Regions from separate parts of the Homo sapiens genome. Here all the other regions are linked to region 1. The links are contacts of gene promoters, found by promoter capture Hi-C in blood cells and fetal thymus (Javierre and others, 2016). All regions are on one chromosome and are shown on one strand. Each heading gives the region's core, a stretch centred on a gene start or on the middle of the fragment in contact. The rest is flanking DNA. Distances are from core to core; before and after follow the strand shown.

Region 1 (4,345 bases), core at 840-3,339:
AAAGAGGAAATACAATTCCAGACAGAGGGGAGACAGCTCTAATGTGAGAAAAAGCTTAAAGGTTTTGAGAAACTGAAAGAAAGTTAGCCTAACTAGAAGTTTGAAAGAGAAAGAAAAAATTTGAAGTGTAGTCAGGGCCCAAAAAATATGCAGGGTTTTTGTTTGTGGGTCATGGTGGAGAGTTTAGAGCAACATTAAGGTGATCTTTTGAGCAACATCAAGGTCCCTGGGTGACATGATTGGAACTGCATTTTTAAAAGTTACTCTGGCTTCAATTTGGAGAACAGATTGAAAGGAAAAAACAACGACTCAAGGCAAAACATTTAGGAAACTGTTGCTCCTATCTCTAAGTGAGATATGATGGAATAACAGTACAAACCATACACGGGTTATAGTAAATGAGTGCTGTATCAAGTGTACAAATTACAAGAGTAAAGGCAAAGGTAAGAGATAGGGAAACGTTCTACAGAGGTTATGCCTTTACTGTATCTTAGCACATGAACAGAGGAAACACAATGTATAAAATATTGTAATGTGAAAAAGCACAGCAATTATGTAACTACAAAAAACAGTAATAGTATCCAAGATGAAGCAGTCAAAGTTAGAATAAAGGAGGGAAACAGAACTTCTATTTACTCATATTTATGTTCTCTAAAAATTATGCTATATAAACATCAAATATATAAATTAACAGTAATTCATAAATATATATGAAGTTCATGCTCAATATCTTTTTTTAACTGATAGGGTGTGTATTCAAAAAGTTTGGAGTCCACTGGTCTAAGCTCAAGGTGCCCAGGTGGTGGGGAGAAGAGGTTCCAATATGGAACACTGGAAAAGTAGGCAAGCACCAGGTCATAACGTTTAGACTTTATTCTGTATGCAATTAATAAATATTTAAAAGATTTCATCAGAAGAATAACCTGATCAGGCTTACATTTCGTGTAGACGAATCTAGCACCAAACTCAGGGAGTATGGAGGCCTATGGAAAACAAGATAAAGTAATCGCAAGAGTCTAGACAAGAAGTGATCACAGCCTGAATTAAGTCAGTGGAACTGGAGAGGTGAGGGCAATTTTAAGAACTCAGATCACAAAATTTAGTGATAATTAGAATATGGGATAAAGAGATTAAGACTCTCAGGTTTCTAGCTTAGGAGCAGCACATCTGGTTGAGAAATGGAGGAGAAAAGGGGTGCTTAGTTTTTCAGTGTCTTTTTAAGAGGAGGTAGGATAAGCAGAAGATAAAACTTTGCACACGGATTTTCAAATGTCTCCTGACTATCCCGGATTCTTAGTCAGCTGGATATGCAGGCCTGAAAAAGATACCAGACATCTAGATTGTAGACCGGGACTGAGGAATCATCAGAGTATGGTGAATAGTAAAAGCATTATAGAGCACCAGAACATCCTGTGTCCACGTTTAAAAATGGGAAGCTGGAGGAGCCCAGGATAAAACTAAGCACCCCTTTTCTCTTCCATTTCTTAACCCAGACGTGTTGCCCCTAAGCCAGAAACTTGAGAGTTTTAATAAACACTTATATTTATCCCATGTTCTAATTATCACTAAATTCTATTATCTGGATTCTTAAAATTGCCCTCATCTCTCCAGTTCCGTCTGACTCCTATCAAAACAGAGGGCTGCAGTTGAGTAGTAGGAAAGCAGTTGCTGCACACTGACATTTCACGAGCCTCTTGCTCGTATTTCACCTAAGAACTGCACACATGTAGGAGCAAAGGATCAGGTCCTCCTCTGTCTCCGAGGGTTTGATTATTTCAATTCATCGTTTTAAAACGCTGAAACAGACCAACAGTGTCCTAACCCGTGCCCAGTGATACCCTCCTCAAACCCAGCCTGGGTCAGGGGCTGATTGACTCCAGGAGGCGTCCCTCAGCTACTGTGTATCGGACATCTGCTGGAGGGCTCACAGCCGGCCTCCCGGCTGTGGTCAAATGAGCCTGACTCCTACCTCGATATGACTAGCGGCCACGCTGCCGAAGGACAAGAGCAACACAGTTGCCAAGACAGTCGCAGCCCGGCTGAGGCTGTCGGTGACGGCCATGTTTACCGGCTTCAGACTTCCCGCACCTGAAGGGGCGGAGGCAGTGCCGTAAAGTAGCGCTGCGGGTTTTTGCGACACCATCCGCGCCTCTTCGAGGTGGCCCTCTGGTCCGGCTTTAGAACTCTGCGGTTTTGTGGAGCTCGAGAGTCCGGGACAAGGTAGACGCAGGATATTGACCTTTTTATTTTTAACTGCATTTTCAGTTTGGAGGTTGTAAAATAGGTATAACATTTAAGAAAAAAAATTGAAAGGTGAGTGGAGGGAAAACCCGTAACTCCTTAAACTTTAAAAACTTATTTCTCTGTTCCCTTATTTATTTTATTTATTTATTTATTTATTTATTTATTTATTTTGCCGAGTGCTGCCAATTCTTTGAAAATATGAAGCTGGATGTGGTGGGAAGAACAAGCGTTTTGGCACAAAAAGATGATTAATTGGATAAACTATAAATGGAAAATGTGGGTGGGCGCTGCAATTTAGAGGCTTGGGGTCTACTACCTGGTGAAAGGATTAACATGGGAAGCTAGTTACGTTTTTGTTTCTTGAGTATCTTCTGTAATTATGGAACTAAAGCCTATCTGGAAGAGACACAGCTGGTGTATATGTATGGTCCACCATTCTCTTTATTATGTGAGTTCAGTTTTAATTTATGCATTTCATCTAGTATGACATAAACGTTTCCACGCTGCTTCCTCACAATTTTAACATTTAATGGTGAGATAAAATTCCATCCATTATTGATGCCTCAGCCAAAGTAATTGTCCCTCTGCTGCACAATGCAAAGTTTTTAAGTTTTACTATGAAAATAATATTGTAAAGAGTATCTTTTGTGTGTTTGGCTTTTTAAATCTGTTGAATTATTTTGTTTGTATAATTTTCCTGAACTAGGAATTTGGGGTCAAAATATTCCAAAACATTTTAATAACTATAAATGATGTTGCTTTCCAAAATGAACAAGCTTACAGCACTATCAGAATACACAACACCAAACCATACCATTTTTTTTCCTTTAAATTCTTTGGTATGAAATGTTACCCCTAGGTAACTATACTTATAATTCTTTGGTTACTATCAAGATCTGATGTCTTTCTTGTGTTTCTAAACTATCTCTGTGTCCTCTGATGTAAATTCTTTGTTTATATATTTATGTTTTGCATATGAATTTGAATAATATATTTATAAATAAGTAACATTAGCCTTTGCCATATTTTATGCTATTGCTTTTCCCATTCTCTTGTCTCTCTTTTCCTTTTATTTGTTTCTTTTGCTATTGCACTTTGTGAGAGGTTTCATGCTATTTAGTCAAATTTAGGTTTTCCGTTACGTGAATCCTAGAAAGTAAATACACTGCCAGAATATCTTCCATGTATTCATTAATTCAACAGATATCTATTGGATGCTGATGATTATGAAACAAAGTAGCAAAGATAAGAAGCCATTTGCTCATTCTGCTCCTTTGCCAGCAATATTTCACAAAGCCCCTGACTCATTGACTGTGAGCAGCCTTGTGGAAGAATGCCTTGAAGACCATAAGCAGGATAGGGAATAGGTTTGCACATCTCTTGCCTGAATCACTGAATTTTTACAAAAGGTAAGTTTGGTGATCCTAGCCCTTGCCTCTTCCTGTACATAAGATAATGTCTGACAAGATTAATGATTATGCCTCAAATTCATGACCAGATGTAACTTCATACCCACACTTTGATGAGACTTTACTTGTATTAACCCATTTTCATACTGCTATGAAGAAATACCCAAGACTGCATAATTTCTAAAGAAAAAGGCTTAGTGGACTCACAGTTCCACATGGCTGGGGAAGCCTCACAATCATGGTAGAAGATGAAGAAGGAGCAAAGGCACATCTTACATGGCAGCAGGTGAGAGAGCATGTGCAGAGGAACTACCCTTTATAAAACCATCAGAGGCCAGGTGCAGTGGCTCACACCTGTAATCCTAGCACTTTGGGAGGCCGAGGCAGGCAGATCATCTGAGGTCAGGCATTCAAGACCAGCCTGGCCAACATGGCAAAACCCCATGTTTCAAAATTAGCTCAGTGTGGGGGCACATGCCTGTAATACCAGCTACTAGGGAGGCTGAGGCAGGAGAATCGCTTGAACCTGGGAGGCAGAGGTTGCAGTGAGCCAAGATCACGCTACTGTACTCCAGCCTGGGCAACAGAGCCAGACTTTGTCTCAAAAAATAAAATGAAATAAAATAAAAATAAATAAATAGATAGATAAATAAAACCATCAGAGCTCGTGAGAACTCACTACCATGACAACA
Region 2 (4,345 bases), core at 708-3,207, 760 kb after region 1:
TAAAGTATTAATCAGATAATCCTGTTCATCTGCATTTGGTCAAGGAACTATATCATAGCTTCTTAGTAGGAAACAATTCATGCATTAAAACAAACAAACGAAAAAAAACAAGGCCGGGCGCAGCGGCTCACGCCTGTAATCCCAGCTTTGGGAGGCCAAGACGGGCGGATCACGAGGTCAGGAGTTCGAGACCAGCCTGGCCAGCATGGTGAAACCCTGTCTCTACTGAAAACAAACAAACAAACAAAAAAAACACAAAAAATTAGCCGGGCATGGTGGCGGGCGCCTGTAATCCCAGCTACTCGGGAGGCTGAGGCAGGAGAATTGCTTGAAGCCGGGAGGCAGAGGTTGCAGTGGGACGAGATCGCACCACTGCACTCCAGTCTGGGCGACAGAGGGAGACTCCGTCTCAAACAAAACAAAACAAAACTCCAGTATCTACCTACAGTGTGCGATACCAATTAATCCAATGTGCTGGTTCTGGTAAAATAAAATAGTTGGTTCCAGTAAATAAAATAGTTCCCTTAAGTTTTACAAATCAATCTAATAAAACACGCTAAGAGTGTTTGTCATAGTTATATGCTTGTTGCTAAACATGTTCAGAATTTCTTAAATTACGTGGAAAAAACCGCAGAACTAATATTAATGATGACCTTTTGTTGACTACTCCTAGTATTTCTGGTTATAAAAAAGTACAGGTACATGTTTATAATGCGTTCACATTAGATGTGTTACAACGGATTTTATGAATTCTAATTTTGACTCAATGTTCCTTCAACTGTCCCGGTAAAAAGTTAACTAAGTGAACTCCTAATGCAACGAAAACACAGCACAACACTGGTTTCTAATTATCATTAGCTTAAAACTAGTAAAAAATGCCCAGCACCTAGTACAATATGCATAGTGTCACAGAGAATAGGATTCTTTTGCTTACATGCAAATCTATACCAACACCATACATTTTGAAATGTTAAATATATTAGGGGACTATCTAAGAATGTAAAGTTCAAATTAAGGTATCTTTTATTTTCCTGGAATACACGCACTATTTTAACAGCTTTCGTCTGGGAAAGTGGTGCCTTCAGGGCAAATGCACGCACTACGTAATACAAAGAGGTCTGGTCAGTTTACGACTCTGAACTGAGAGGCAGATTCAAATTGAAACCTCTGGTATAATGGGCCTGAGGCCATTTTGAGAAATAAGGGGGGCGGACTGGTGGAACAGACTGACACGTAAATCCCGCCCAGAAAAAGGCTGCTTTCAAGTCCCTTCCTTGTAGAGGTGTGACGGTGAATGGTACTGAAAGCGGTTTTAATTGCGAGAGAGAACGGAAATGAGCTGTAAAGGCTACTTTAATGATAAATCCCTTCCCTTGCTATGGCTCCAGGACAGACCCTAGTTCTTTCCCAAACTCATTACCAGAACCTTCCATTAAATTGTGTGAAACTAACTGCGCTTTATCCCCTGGAAGAGGATCTTTATCTAAACTAGCTCACTGGAGACACGCGAGTGCCGCAGAAGCGGGAGAAAGACTTCAGGCCTTCTTTGCGTAGCACGCGTCGGGGTTCTAAGTGGATTAGGCACCAAGAACACAAAACTGGGTTCTGGTCTCTAATCGTTATTACCAACATGGGGAAACGTGTCTCTTCACATTTCAGCCCGGAAGAACACCTCTTTCCTCTTCCTCATGCGCTTAAGGGTAGCGGCCTACTCAGTCAGCGGCCAATTACCGTGAGCTTTCGGGATTCCGCCGCGCGGTCCACACTTACCTGCCGGGCTCTCTGCAGTGCATCTTTGAAAGCGTCGTTAACTCCTCCACCACCACCGCCGCCACCACCGCCACCAGCTGAGCCAGAAGAGGGGGGAGGCACTGTTGAATAGTCTGCCATGGTTGCACTATAAGAGCCGCTGCCGCCTGTTCAGAGACTTCCTCTCAGCTAACAGCTAAGAAAGAAAGAAAATGGCGGCCGTCGAAGCTCTATTACATTCTTGCGCGACCATCGTGCCGTAAAGGGGCGGAGACTGAAGGAACAAAATCTCGCGATGTTTCCGAGGCAACGCGCTGGTGTGGGTTAGGGCTGAGAAAGAACGACAGGAACAGAGACGTCGCGAGGATTAAGTTTAAGACTTCGCGAGAACAGAATTTCTTTTGGCACCTCCTCTCCGCGCGTTCTTGGGGTGAGGCTGGGTAATTGTTCCTGCAGGGTGGTGGGTGATAGTGGCCAGTTGACTGCGACTGTGTTTGGGTGGTGGGAAGCCTGAAGAAAAGGTTGTTTCTTACCGGTCGCTGCCTCAGGGAGGTAGTGCGGTAGAATTTTCCGCTATGGGTCATTCTCGGTGTCCGCGGGGAAGGGCGTGACAACGACGGGCGTGACGGCGAAGCAACAGTGTCTCGAGAGCGCTGCCGCCCGGAGGGCGCCAGGAGAAGTGCGTCCGAGACGCCGCGCGGTGATGCTCCTGAAAACGTCTGCCCGGCGTAGCGGGAACCCAGCATGATTTTCAGGGTAGTAAAGTGTCCCTGTATTTTACTTACAGACTGTCCGATTTTTTAGTTTTATCACGAGGGTGGGTGTTGAATTCAGGCTGGAAGCCTGTTAGTTCTCGACCATATTTTAAGTTTTTTGTTTAAAATAATGTGGATGAGGCTCTAAAAGTATGACTGCCCTTTTCTTTATCCAAAAACGTGATTGTTCTTAAAGTTCAGTGTTAGCCAGATTTAATAACCTAGTATATGTATGTGTCCATGGCCATTTTTATTAAGGGTTTTTTTTTGTTTGTTTGTTTGTTTTGAGAGTCTCGCTCTGTTACCCAGGCTGGAGTGCAGTGGCGCGGTCTCGGCTCACTGCATCCTCCGCCTCCTGGGTTCAAGCGATTCTCCTGCCTCAGCCTCCCGAGTAGCTGGGACAACAGGCGCCTGCCACCACGTCTGGGCTAATTTTTTGCGTTTGTAGTAGAGACGGGGTTTCACCGTGTTAGCCAGGATGGTCTCGATCTCGTGACCTCGTGATCCACCCGCCTCGGCCTCCCAGAATGCTAGGATTATAGGCGCGAGGCACTGCGCCCGGCCTGTTAAGGTCTCTTAAGTTAAGAACAGCATTGTTTCTTGACCAAAATAGATTTTGTAGCTTCTTAGGCGTAGTTTCTCCCACCCCATCCTGTGGGTACTCAAATGTAAGATCATATTCTGAATTGTCATCACAGGACTAGGTATATATATATATATATGTGTGTGTGTGTGTGTGTGTGTGTGTGTGTGTGTAAATTGGTATTTTATGTTATGTACTTCAGTTACCAAGTAATGCCAGACATTTCTTCAGACCTTCTCCAACATATCGTGGCATGTAATTTACTGTGTTAATAGTAGTAAGCTCCAGGAATCGTGAGGATACTTTAGAAGTCTTACTCTTTATTATTGAGTATATCACAGTGACTTTTTTTTTCCAAAATTATTTGTTTAAATAACAAACAATGAGGTAAAATGAACTTTCTCGACTTTGTGGCATTTTGTCTTACTTGGTTAGGTCTAAAAAAATACTTTTTCAGCAGCTCTTAAGAGTAATTGTGAGAAATATATATATGCTGCATTCTTTCTGAAAACCTAAAAGTAATGTGTTCATTTGCTTAAGCACCAAAATAGCAGTTAATATGAATGTAGATACAGGTGAGCCATCATTTCCCTTTAATCAGCTTTTAAGGCAGTAGTATCCATTTATAGCTCTGATGATCTTTTTCAGTGTTCATGGCCATCCCTATAAATTTTGGTGGAATTTGCATTTGAAAAATCAGTGCACGTATGGGACTACAGATTTAATCATAATGTATAGAAAAACAGTAAAAGCAGTGTTGGGTGTGCGGCTAGGTAGAAATTTTCCAGTTGTATTTTGAAAATGTCTTGATTTTTTCATATTTTATTAATTAGGCAATACAATCAGATCTTTTGATCAATGTAATTTACCACAGTGCTATAATTTACCCTCAAAACAAATTTATGTATATCTCAATTTATTTTAGTTATCACTGAATATTGAAAATATGTAAGGACCTCAATTTTTTTTTTTTTTTTTTTTACATACTCGCTCTGTTGCCCAGGCTGGAGTGCAGTGGCACGATCTTGGCTCACTGAAACCTCAGCCTCCCAGGTTCAAGAGATTCTCCCACCTCAGCCTCTGGAGTAGCTGGGATCACAGGTGTGCACCACTATGCCTAATTTTTTTTTTTTTTGAGACGGACTCACCCTGTCACCCAGACTGGAGTGCAGTGGCATGATCTCGGCTCACTGTAACCTCTGCCTACTGGCTTCAAGCAGTTCTGCCTCAGCCTCCCGAGTAGCTGGGATGACAGGCA
Region 3 (4,345 bases), core at 1,030-3,529, 670 kb after region 1:
ACTGCACTCCAGCCTGGGCGACGGAGCGAGACTACATCTCCAAATAAATAAATAAATAAATAAATAAATAAATAAATAAATAAGCAAATAAATAGGAATATATATATATAGGGAAGAGAAAGGTGGGATGAAAGGTGAGGTGCAAGGTGGGGAGAAAGGTGGGATGCAAGGAAGCCTTCTCCGAGGAAGCAGCATTTAAGAAGAGATCGGGAGGATATGTTGAAGTTAGGTGAAGGGGAAAGTGGGAGAAAGGATTTCATGCAGGGAACAACTTATACAAAGGCCCTGCAGCCAGACTGCCCATAGAAAGTTTCATGAACTGAAGAAGGCCAAGGTGATGGCATCAAAGAGAGCAAGGGCACAAGCAAGACTACCAAGACCACCTATCACTATCCGTAGTTCGGTACATTTAAATAATTTTAATTACCAATTTTGAACTTTTCTGTAATCGAGGAATGAATGGCTTACCCTCCTTAGAAAAGTTTCCATCCTGAGTAAATACTGTGGGGATGGGACTGGGGAACAGAGTTATATTTGAGTAGAAGGCCTTTTGTGTGTACGGGTGTGAGAGAGAGAGAAACAGAGAGAGAGAGGGAGTTTCACTCTTGTTGCTCACGCTGGAGTGCAATGGCGCCATCTCAGCTCACAGCAACCTCAGCCTCCCGGGTTCAAGCGAAGTGGGTTCTTCAACCTCAGCCTCCCAGGTAGCTGGGATCACAGGCGCACGTCACCACGCCCGGCTAATTTTTTGCATTTTTAGTAGAGATAGAGTTTCACCATGTTGGCCAGGCTGGTCGCAAACTCCTGACCTCAGGTGATCCACCCGCCTTGGCCTCCCAAAGTGCTGGGATTACAGGCAGGAGCCACCGCGCCCGGCCTTTTTTTTTTTTTTTGGAGACAGAGTCTCATTTTGTCACCCAGACTGGAGTGCAGTGGGATGATCTCTGCTCACTGCAACCTCCGCCTCCTGGCTTCAAGTGATTCTCCTGCCTCAGCCTCCTGAGTAACTCAGATTACAGGTGTGTGCCTCCACACTAGGCTAATTTTTTGTATTTTTAGTAAAGACGGCCTTTTGCCATGTTGGTCAGGCTGGTCTTGAATTCCTGACCTCAAGTGATCCACCCGCCTCGGCCTCCCAAAGTGCGGGGATCACAGGCATGAGCCACCGCGCCCAGCCCAGAAGGCCTTTTCAACATCCCTGAAATATAACCTGAGCACCGCTGTCTGCTTAGGGCCTGAAGGTGGAAGTGGTTACCTTTATTCTTTATCTGGATGTCATTTCGATTTTTTTTTCAAGTGCAGTGAAGAATTAAAGATCTCGTCCACCAAAAATACTCCGAGTGTGCATTTCGGGTTTTAATATGGTATTGTCTGATGGGTTTGACAGGCTGGCGGTCCAAGTTGAAAAAGGTCTGTGGGTGTCTAATAGTCAAAGATGCCTTTATGAAGCTTTAGAAAGACCAGATATGGTTTGCCTTCAATTAAGAAAAAGGTGGAATATAAAGATATTTGTACTTATATAAATATATTCCTTCTTTTCTTCTCCTCCTCCTCCTCTGCCTTCAACTTTCTTCTTCTTCTTCTTCTTCTTCTTCTTCTTCTTCTTCTTCTTCTTCTTCTTCTTCTTCTTCTTCTTCTTCTTCTTCTTCTTCTTCTTCTTCTTCTTTTTTAACTCTCCTTTTAGAGTTAAAGACTGGAGCTAAGAACAGGGGAGCAATAGACAGATGAAGTGTTCCCGGATTGCTGCCCCACGCTCTTTGTAATAAAGGAAAACTTGGCCAAAGGTCAATGCTTAGGGTAGTAGAAGATATGTAGTGGCTTGGCTTCTTGACTGGAAACTAGGACGGGTAGAGTAGCTGAGAGAAGTGGGCCCCAGAGCAAACTGGTTGCGGGTAGGGGGAGCCAGCTTCAGCCCGGTAATGAAGCCCATTTCAGCCTCATTCCTTTCCCATGGCGGAGGCAGCCTTCCTTCCCCAGGCCTGGCTGGAGGTGGAGGCAGGCCCAAAGTTAGGGGGTCAGCTCGCGCACCTAGGGCCGGGAGACAGACAAATTCTGGCGGAAAGTTGGCAGCCACGGTCCCCCTCCCCTGCTTTTCTCCTCAACTCTCCACCCCCACTCCGGGTGATAACGGCGGAGGTGGGGGGTTGGGGGAACTGGCCTTGTGTTTTGGAACAGCTGCAGCCGGCGCTGGGCCCGCCTGGAATGCGGGAACAGGCTGCACACCAGGACTTTTATGGAAACTTGCTGCTGGAGACGGCGGCGGCGGCGGCGGCAGCGGCAGCCAGAGGACTCCCAGCGGCTGGAGCAGAAGTGTTAGCGGCCAGAGCTCCCAGACCCCTACCCACAGCCAGGCGGGACGCGCACAGTCCCTCCACGCGGAAAGAAGTACCTTCGCCGGTCACCGGCTCCTGCAGGGTGAGAAGAGTTGGGGGAACGTGGGCTGGGGGGAGTGGAGACGGAGGTGTCGGGTCCCCTGGTGGGGGCGGGGGCGGGAACGGCGGCTGCAGAGAGGCGCTCGGGGTCTGCGGCTTCTGGCCGTGCTCCGCTGCAGCTCCGGAGGGCGCCGGGCGCCATACAGCTGTGGTCCGCGCTGGCCCCGGCCCGGGCGAACCCTGCCTTGGAGCCGCATCCTGCGGGCTCGGCGGGGTGCCTACCAGGGGCTGCCCCAGGGTCTGAAAGTGTCGGCCGGCCTTGGGCTTCTGGTTGCAATGTCTTTGCCCTGCTCCCCTGCGCCTTGTCGGCTGAGTTTCGGGTGCGTTCCCTACTGTAGGGAGGGAGCCCTCTGTGAGCGGAGTGGGTGCCGATCCCTCGGCTGAACCCTTGGGGTCCTTAGGGAAGTTCAGTGCCGTCCCCCACCACTTGCCCCAGCCGCGGTCTCCGTCTCTGCCAGCAGTGCCAGTTAAGAAATCCTTTCTGATCGGTCTCTGTGGAAGATGGGGAGAAATATGATTTAACAGCCTATTACTCCCCCCCCACACCCCCGCATATCCCCCCACTCCTGTCTCCAACCCTTTTTTTTTTTTTTTTCGTGATTCTGCCCGAGGTGGGATGCTGGGGGTTGAGCAACTAGGGCTGGAAGTTTACGAAGTTTACGTAGTTTAAGTGAGTGAAGAATGTAGTCACCTCTTGAGAACTCCCTTTGCCTATATGCTTTTGAAAACGCCAAACCATTCCAGCTGTTTGTAAATTGTGAAACGTTCTACAAATGCATTAGCATTGGCATTTATAAAGAAAATGACGAAGTTGAGAGGTTATAGTTGGTTACTGCAGTGACTTAGAGATGCTCATTTTATAGTTATTAAAGCACAACGTGAACCAAGTTGGCAGAGAGATAACAAGGTAAAAATAGCATAAGGATATGTCCTAACAAAATGTCCTTGGTGAAGACACAGGTAGAGAAAAGAAGCCATAATAAAGAAATTAGTTCCCTGACCAAAACAACGGGAATATCATTCATCGTTAAATTTTGTTAATGAATTCATGTAGCAGCGGCCCATTGGCCTTCGAGTCACAACATAACTATGTCTTAGGTAATGTGATTAAATAAACTTAAGTATTTATACTTAAGTTCATATCTTAGTCACACGTTATTTATATCTTAGTCACACGTTATTGAGTGGACCACATAATTTCCCCCGCTAAACATTATCCTTTACAGGTTAAACTGCTGCAGTTAGAAAACTTTGTCTCAAATTCTTTTGAGTTTGGGGTATTGTTAAGAAAAAATGCATAATTAATCAAATGAGAGAAAGGTTTTTTGGGGGGAGGTATAATTTGTATAAGTAAACTTTGATTAACCAATGTAGCTGTTTAAGTTTCTTCTTCCTTACAATTAACACCGTATTTTTGCAGATATTTTATATTTTGACTAATGCTTCTGAGGAACAATTTAAAGAAAAATGCATGCAATTATGTAGTTTATCTGCAATTCCCTTAAAGAATTCTAAGCTAAAACCACAACAAAATTATTTTAAATCCAGTTTTCCTCATCATAGTTACAATGTAATCCAGTTTTAATAAAAGATTCATATTTTAAAATCCATTTTCAATTGAAATGTAATGAATAGCAATTGTTCCTGCTCACCTTAAAATGGAATTTGTGCTATTTTTGAAAATTTGACATGTAAGGCTGATCATTGTCAAAATGTATGTCATCTTGAGATGACTATATTTAGCATCAACAAAGGAATGCATTATCTAGGTTTTTGAACAGTCTTTTTCCCCTGAAATTTCACTTGAAGTATTTAGGTTAGGGTTTCATTTTTGAGCAGAATAAAAACTAAATATGCATATTTGGAAGACATTAATTGGGGATTCAGATTGCTTAGAATCTGAGCGGCCTATA

The links. Contacts are between HindIII fragments. The CHiCAGO score rates a contact against its expected background, and 5 or more counts as called.
Region 2: the fragment with the promoter of FUBP1 here is called in contact with the fragment with the promoter of PIGK in region 1 in 8 of 17 cell types (fetal thymus, total B cells, naive CD8 T cells and 5 more); the score reaches 11.1 in fetal thymus.
Region 3: the fragment with the promoter of NEXN here is called in contact with the fragment with the promoter of PIGK in region 1 in 2 of 17 cell types (erythroblasts and total B cells); the score reaches 11.0 in erythroblasts.

The regions. Positions count from the first base shown.
Region 1 is chr1:77,217,341-77,221,685 of GRCh38, forward strand. PIGK (phosphatidylinositol glycan anchor biosynthesis class K) reads right to left here and starts at 2,090. Exons shown (of 11, transcript NM_005482.3): 1 at 1,970-2,090. The coding sequence starts at 2,062. It overlaps LOC105378808 (a long non-coding RNA gene), which reads left to right and starts at 2,180. Exons shown (of 3, transcript XR_001738109.2): 1 at 2,180-2,313; 2 at 3,448-3,653. RefSeq lists an enhancer at 1,774-1,883. The HindIII fragment of the contact is 2,966 bases long and covers 53-3,018 here.
Region 2 is chr1:77,977,115-77,981,459 of GRCh38, forward strand. It overlaps FUBP1 (far upstream element binding protein 1), which reads right to left and starts at 1,958. Exons shown (of 20, transcript NM_003902.5): 1 at 1,771-1,958. The coding sequence starts at 1,890. It also overlaps a transcript of DNAJB4 not described here. RefSeq lists enhancers at 1,522-1,571, 1,642-1,691, 1,702-1,761, 1,772-1,901, 2,212-2,361 and 1 more. The HindIII fragment of the contact is 9,300 bases long and covers 1-4,345 here.
Region 3 is chr1:77,886,345-77,890,689 of GRCh38, forward strand. NEXN (nexilin F-actin binding protein) reads left to right here and starts at 2,280. Exons shown (of 13, transcript NM_144573.4): 1 at 2,280-2,415. NEXN-AS1 (NEXN antisense RNA 1) reads right to left here and starts at 3,195. Exons shown (of 3, transcript NR_103535.1): 1 at 3,124-3,195; 2 at 1,256-2,924. RefSeq lists an enhancer at 2,225-2,284 and a silencer at 2,525-2,664. The HindIII fragment of the contact is 9,507 bases long and covers 1,448-4,345 here.